Linked DNA regions of Homo sapiens: region 2 is linked to region 1. Evidence: promoter capture Hi-C in 16 types of primary human blood cells and fetal thymus (Javierre and others, 2016). All regions are on one chromosome and are shown on one strand. Each heading gives the region's core, a stretch centred on a gene start or on the middle of the fragment in contact. The rest is flanking DNA. Distances are from core to core; before and after follow the strand shown.

The links. The method cuts DNA at HindIII sites, captures the fragments that hold promoters and counts their contacts. A CHiCAGO score of 5 or more calls a contact.
Region 2: a contact is called between the fragment with the promoter of MSH4 here and a fragment that was not itself captured in region 1, in 1 of 17 cell types (M1 macrophages). The highest score is 5.8, in M1 macrophages.

The regions. Positions count from the first base shown.
Region 1 is chr1:75,267,906-75,271,482 of GRCh38, forward strand. All of the region lies in intron 6 of SLC44A5 (solute carrier family 44 member 5), which reads right to left. Among named protein-coding and RNA genes, the nearest start is that of LHX8, 140 kb to the left of the region's middle. The HindIII fragment of the contact is 4,411 bases long and covers 1-3,577 here.
Region 2 is chr1:75,795,225-75,798,427 of GRCh38, forward strand. MSH4 (mutS homolog 4) reads left to right here and starts at 1,658. Exons shown (of 20, transcript NM_002440.4): 1 at 1,658-2,005. The coding sequence starts at 1,762. The HindIII fragment of the contact is 6,934 bases long and covers 1-3,174 here.

The sequences.
Region 1 (3,577 bases), core at 940-3,439:
GCATACATGCTTATTGTGAACCATTGAAACAGCTCAAGAAGGTATAAGGAAGCAGCAAGAATGTTCTTTTTAAAATGTTAAATGGATTCGGTCACTCTTGTTGGAACACCTTTCTATGTCCTTCTCTGCACTTATAAATAATCCAAATACTTTATCAGAGTCCATAGGACACAGAAAATATGACTTCTACCTGTTTCTCAGACATCTCCTCATTCCACCACCCTCTTTATCGGCTACGTTTTGGCCTCTTGGCTTCCTTCTAGTGCTAGTCCTGGTGTATCATAGGGTCACTCATGCCTCAGGACCTTTGCACTTATTGCCTCTGGCTTGAGTGCTCTTCCCAGGGCTTTTGAAAGGCTGGTGTCTTCCTGGTCTTCACATCTCAGTTCAGAAGTCACCTCCTCATGAGAGTGCTTCCCTCACCCCGTAACCACAAGGTAACTACCTCCCATTGCACACCAGTCATTCTCTGTTAGGCCATCTGCTTTGTTTTTTTTCTTCATAGCATTGATCACTATTTGAAGCTATCTTGTTATTTACATTTTTATTGAGAATCTCCCTTTAACTTAAACGTAGGCTTCATGAGGGCAGGTAGCTTGTTCATTTGTTTTTACTATAACCTCAGCCTTTAGAAAACTGTCTGGGATATAATAGGGGCTCAGAAATATGAGAATGAAAATAAAAATATAATCCCATAATTGAAAATAATTACTGTAAGCATATGTATATCCGTTCAGACTTTTTTCTTGCATATGTTTTCATATATGTGAATATAGAGTATACAAGTGTACAAACATACCAACAAAATGAAATTATACTACACATGCCATTTTAATAACTTCATTTCTTGAATTAACAATATATCATGAGCACATTTCCTTGCCAATAAATATATCTCTACCCAATAATTAATGATTAAATGGTATTTTATAATTGACTATACCGTAATTCATTTAATCAATCTCCTATTGAGAAACATTTAGGTTGTTTCCATTTTATTATTACTATTACATAGTGCCTATAACGTTAGGAAATCTATGCAAATTTCCACTAGATGAGTTTCTAGGATGAAAACTGCTGAATCAAAAAGAACCTATATGTTTGATAAATATTTTATAAAATCTGATAAATATCAAATTACACTACTGCCAGTAGAAAATGAGGCGATTTTTTCTCCTCACTCTGGCCAACACCGGAAATTTTAATATTTTAAAATTTACTTGACAACCTATAAGACAAAAATAATATTTTAATTAATTTGCAATTCTTTTTTTAACTGTAGTTGAACTATATTTCTATCATTATTGGCCATTATATTATTTCCTGTTTATGACTTTTACCTACTTTCATATAGGATGATCTTTTTTTCTTTTTGATTTTGAAGAACAGCTCATATAAAAAAGGTGTTGATACATTTGGTCAGATATATATGTTGAAAATATTTGTTTTTCCTAGATTTCCATTTATCTTTCAACTTTGTTTCCAATGAGTTAAGGTGTATTTATGTGTTGAAATTCTTCAAAATTTCTATTTTCTGCTTTTGGTGTTATCTTTAGAAAAGTTTTCTTAACCCCATAATTCTATAAATATACCCTTGCATTTTCTTCTGTTACTTCTATGGTTTTATATTTTATATACAAAATCATCAATGCTTTAGTGTTTATTTTGGTATAAGATATGAGATAAACATCCAATTTTATTTTATTTTTATGAATGGTATTTCAGTTAATTCAATACTATTTATTTAATAATCATCTTTCTGCTACTGACTTGAAATCCATCTTTATCACATTCAAAATTTATATTTTTAATAGGATTTCTTTCTGTCTGGTTTTATGATAGTTTCACATTGTTATAATAATGTTACTATCATGATATATTTACTCCAATATTTTCCCTTGATACCATTTGATATGGTTTGGCTGTATCCCCACCTAAATGTCATCTTGAATTATAGCTCCCATAATTCCCACATGTTGTGGGAGGGAACCCGTGGGAGATAATTGAATGGTGGGGGCAGTTTCTCCCATGCAGTTCTGTTAGTGAATAAGTCTCACAAGAGCTGATGGTTTCATAAGGGGAAACCCCTTTCACTTGGTTCTCATTCTGTCTTGTCTGCCACCGTGTAAGACGTGCCTTTTGCCTTCTGCCATGATTGTGAGGCCTCCCCAACCACGTGGAACTGTGAGTCCATTAAGCCCCTTTTTCTTTACATATTACCCAGTCTCAGGTATGTCTTTATCACCAGTGTGAAAATGGACTAATACACCATTTTATACAATAAAACTTATGCTTAAAAAACTTTTAATATTGACTAAAATCTTGCATTTTTGTAAATATTTTACTGCTGAAAGTCCAAATATAATTTAGAGTAACTTATTAAAATTTTAAATTAATACACATTTATCATAAGAATTAAAACAATCATGAGACTTAAAAATGTACATTAGAGCAGGTTACAGGATTCAGAAACAAATATATAAATTTATTATTTAGTAATTGTTTTAGAAATCAGAGAGGAAATGGGTATATTATTCAACAAACGATTCTGAAATAATTAACTCAACAATTTGGGAAAATAGTTTGATTTCCACTTCAGTCTATATACAAAAATAAATTTCTAGGGAATTAGAAATTTAAATATAAGAAGGAAGCCATCAAAATACTAGAGAAATATTGGAGAATGTTATTTTCAGGGCGAGGAAGGCAATGATAACCCAGACCCCAGAAACTGTAAGGGAAAATCAACAGAATCAACTGTTGAACATATATACATGATTTTCAGTGGTTCCATTCTATTTCATTAAATTGATGGGCCATAATTTACTATCATTCACATATTGTTGAGTATCTGTGTAGTTTCCAATATATTATTATTTTGAATAATACTTTAATGAACATGTTTGTATTAAGCGAAGCCTATCTTTGAAAGATCATTATGTACTGAAATTTGTGCTGTCACATTTTTGTTTGACATAAGTGGATCATTGGCTTATGTCTGGAAAACTTCTTGTTACAAATGCCCTTTTAAAAACAAACTGTCTTAAAGAACTAGAGATTGAGAGATTTGTATGGTTTCTTTTACCACTTGGTGCTCTCTTTGTCCTTCACAGTGTGAAGGTTGCAAAGGTTTTGTGGGCAATGTCTAGAATTTTCTGAGTTACTGAAGTTAAAAGAATTACCTCCCTGGATCAAAATTTAGCCCAGTCATCTCTAACAGGCAATGAGGAGTCAACTAGTCCCCTATAAATTTACCCTGACATGATTAGGAATTTGCCCCTCTCCTTAAATTTCTGGGTTTTCTTGATTGTGATAATTCTACTTCATGAATTTTGTTAACCATTTTCTGAATCTGTCTTTTTTCTTTTCTTATTTACATTTAAAAATTATTTTTAAAAATGTTAATAGTTTTTTGGGTACAGATGATTTTTGGTTCCATGGATGAATTCTTAGGTGGTGAATTCTGAGATTTTAGCGCACCCATCTCTTGAGCAGTATATACTGTATGCAATGTGTTTTCTTTTATCCCTCACCTCCTCATAGTCTCCCCCTCCTCGAGTCCCCTAAGTCCATTATA
Region 2 (3,203 bases), core at 408-2,907, 530 kb after region 1:
CAGAATTACCCAAAGAAGGAGTTGTCTTCAAATAAGGAAACACTAACGGGTAAGTTGATGGTCACCACAGTATTTTTTTGCACCTGTCTTTTTCTTAAAAAGCTAAAATGGGTACAATCACTCTTTTTTATTTTTTTGTGACAGAATCTCTGTTGCCCAGGCTGGAGCGCAGCAGCACGATCTCAGCTTAACTGCAACCTCCGTCTGCCGGGTTTAAGCAATTCAGCCGCAGCCTCTCGAGTAGCTGGGACTACAGCCGCACACCACCATGCCCGGCTAATTTTTATGTTACTTTAGTACAGACAGGGTTTCACCATGCTGAGGAGCTGGAGACCAGCCTGACCTTGTGATCCACCCACCTCGGCCTCCCAAAGTGCTGGGATTACAGGCGTGAGCCACCACGCCTGGCCTAAAATGAGTACAATCACTCTAGGGGTTTACAGTTTTGGTGAAAGTGAGGTATTCTCTATTTTTAAATTTTATTTTTTAGAGACAGGGTCTTCCTTTCTTCCCCAGGCTGGGGCATAGTAGTGCAATCACAGCTCACTGTAACCTTAAACTCCTGGGCTCAAGCAGTCCTTCCACCTCAGCCTCCTGAGTACCAGGGTCTACAGGTACCTGCCACCATGCCCACTATGCCCAGCTGATTTCTTAATTTTGGGGACAGGCACTGTCTTCCCCAGGCTGGTCTCCGGAGGTGAAGTAATCCTCTGGCCTCAGTCTCCCAAAGTACTGGGATTACAGGGAGGAGCCATCGTGCCCGATCTGAAAATAAGGTTTTTTGATGGAAATTGAGATTTTTCTCAAGTATGTTTGGAATGCCCTGTGCAATAATCATTCCAAGAACAGAGATGTTCTTAAGGACTGTTGTCACTGCATGTGGGTAAACCGCTGTGCATAACTGGTTTATTGAGATACTCAACAGTGGCAGGATTTCAGTAGTGGTGTAAATTAATGTCTTCTAATAGCTTCTGTATGGCAGTATCCAGATAATTTCGTCATGTTTAATCCATGGATCTCTGGTAAGTTGGTACTATTGGCCTTATTTAAGGAATTTTCTAAAGGTCACCACTGCAAAGCTGGAGTTTGAACTTCTAGTGTGCCATTAACTGATTTATATGTTAGAAACCACAGTACTAGAAATTGGTAGATGGGGAATTGTTAACTGAGAGATCTTACCCAGTCAGTCTTTCCCTGTTTCCTACTCTACTATGCACACAGCCATGTGCATACTATCTTTTGATAATATAACTATCTTTCCTATATTTGGTCACAAGATCAACCTTAGGTGGGTTATGCTGTGTGAGCATTACACGTTCTCATTGTGTCAAAGGCACTGGGTGTACTGTGTTGGGTGGTTTCTACATTTAAAGATAAGCTAGTGTGCTTGGACGTGTGGGAAATGCATGTAACATTTGCAATAAGGGAGATTGGGTGCTGTGAGAATAATGGGGCTAACAAATCGGGTGGTCATTGATGGGCCTTGCAGAGTTCTGGTCAGTCTGATACCTGCAGGCTGAGGATGTTCCAGTGAGGTTCATGTGGAAAGTGATGGGTTTGGGAATGGCTGGAAGCAGGGTCATAGACCTGAAGTACGTGAATCCATGTGGAAAGCTGAGCCTGCCTGCGCCTGCGCAGTGCAGCTTAGTGCGTCGGCGCGCAGTTCTCCCGCCCGTTTCAGCGGCGCAGCTTCTGTAGTTGGGCTACTGGAGGGGTCGCTCAGAAACCTCATACTTCTCGGGTCAGGGAAGGTTTGGGAGGATGCTGAGGCCTGAGATCTCATCAACCTCGCCTTCTGCCCCGGCGGTTTCCCCGTCGTCGGGAGAAACCCGCTCACCTCAGGGTCCCCGCTACAATTTCGGACTCCAGGAGACTCCACAGAGCCGCCCTTCGGTCCAGGTGGTCTCTGCATCCACCTGTCCTGGCACGTCAGGAGCTGCGGGCGACCGGAGCAGCAGCAGCAGCAGCCTTCCCTGCCCCGCGCCAAACTCCCGGCCAGCTCAAGGCAAGGAGTGATTGGGTGGAGGAGTCTCCTTGAGGCTAGAGGCCGGCAGTTCATGGAGGCTCGGGGGCACGTGGGTGGTGGTTACCACAGTGAAGTTGTGATTTGGTTGGGGCGTGAGATCTGAGTGCCCTGGGAATTTGGTGAGTCTGGGTGATTAGAAGCCTTGACTTTTCAAATTGGTTCTATTGCAAGACCTTGACTGTGGATGGCTCAGTTCTGAGAAAGGCTGAAGTATCCCATATAACGTCCCTCACAGTGTCTGACAAATGACAGTTTGTGCGTGAGTTTGCTGATAGAAGTTGTGAGCTGATCTTTGGCTGCTGAATTTAATTCTCCAAATCCTGCTAAGGTGGGATAAAATAGATTAAATTGAACATTTCATCTAATTCAGGGAAAATAATATGTTTAGTATTAAAAGAGTGGGCTGGGCGGTGGCTGACGCCTGTAATCCCAGCACTTTGGGAAACCAGGGTGGGCGGATCACTTGAGGCCGGGAGTTCCACACCAGCCTGGCCAACATGGTGAACCTCCCACCCCCATCCCCTATCTCTACTAAAAGTACAAAAATTATCTGGGTGTGGTGGCACGTGACTGTGGTCCCAGCTACTCAGGAGGTTGAGGTGGGAGGATGGCGAGTCCGGGAGGTCGAGGCTGCCGTGAGCTGAGATTGCGCCACTGCATTTCAGCCTGGGTGACACAGTGAGACCCTGACTCAAAACAAACAAACAAAAAAGATGCATGTCCTTCAAATCATTTATTATTTTGTTAGTCTCTATTCATGACAAAGCATCACCATTTTTCACACACGATTGCAACACAATGGTAAAGTAACAAATACCAAATCCAATGGTCATTTTTCAGTTCATCTCATGTGACCTTTCTGCTGTATTTAATGTTCTTAATTTCTTTATTTTTAGAAACAGAGTCTCGCTATGCTGCCCATGCTGGTCTCAAACTCCTGGTCTCAAGTGCTCCTGCCTCGGTCTGCCCAAGCATTGGGATTACAGGCATGAGCCACTGCTGCCTGGCCTATGTTTAATGTTCTTGACTGGTCTTCTCTTAAACTCTTTTAATTTGGCTTCCTTGATTCCACTTGCCCCTGTTTTTCTGCTACCTCCCAGAGAATTGCTGTGCCCACCTTTGTTCCCAAATTATGGGCATGTCATTAAAGCTTTTTTTCCTAGGCCACTTCTACCTA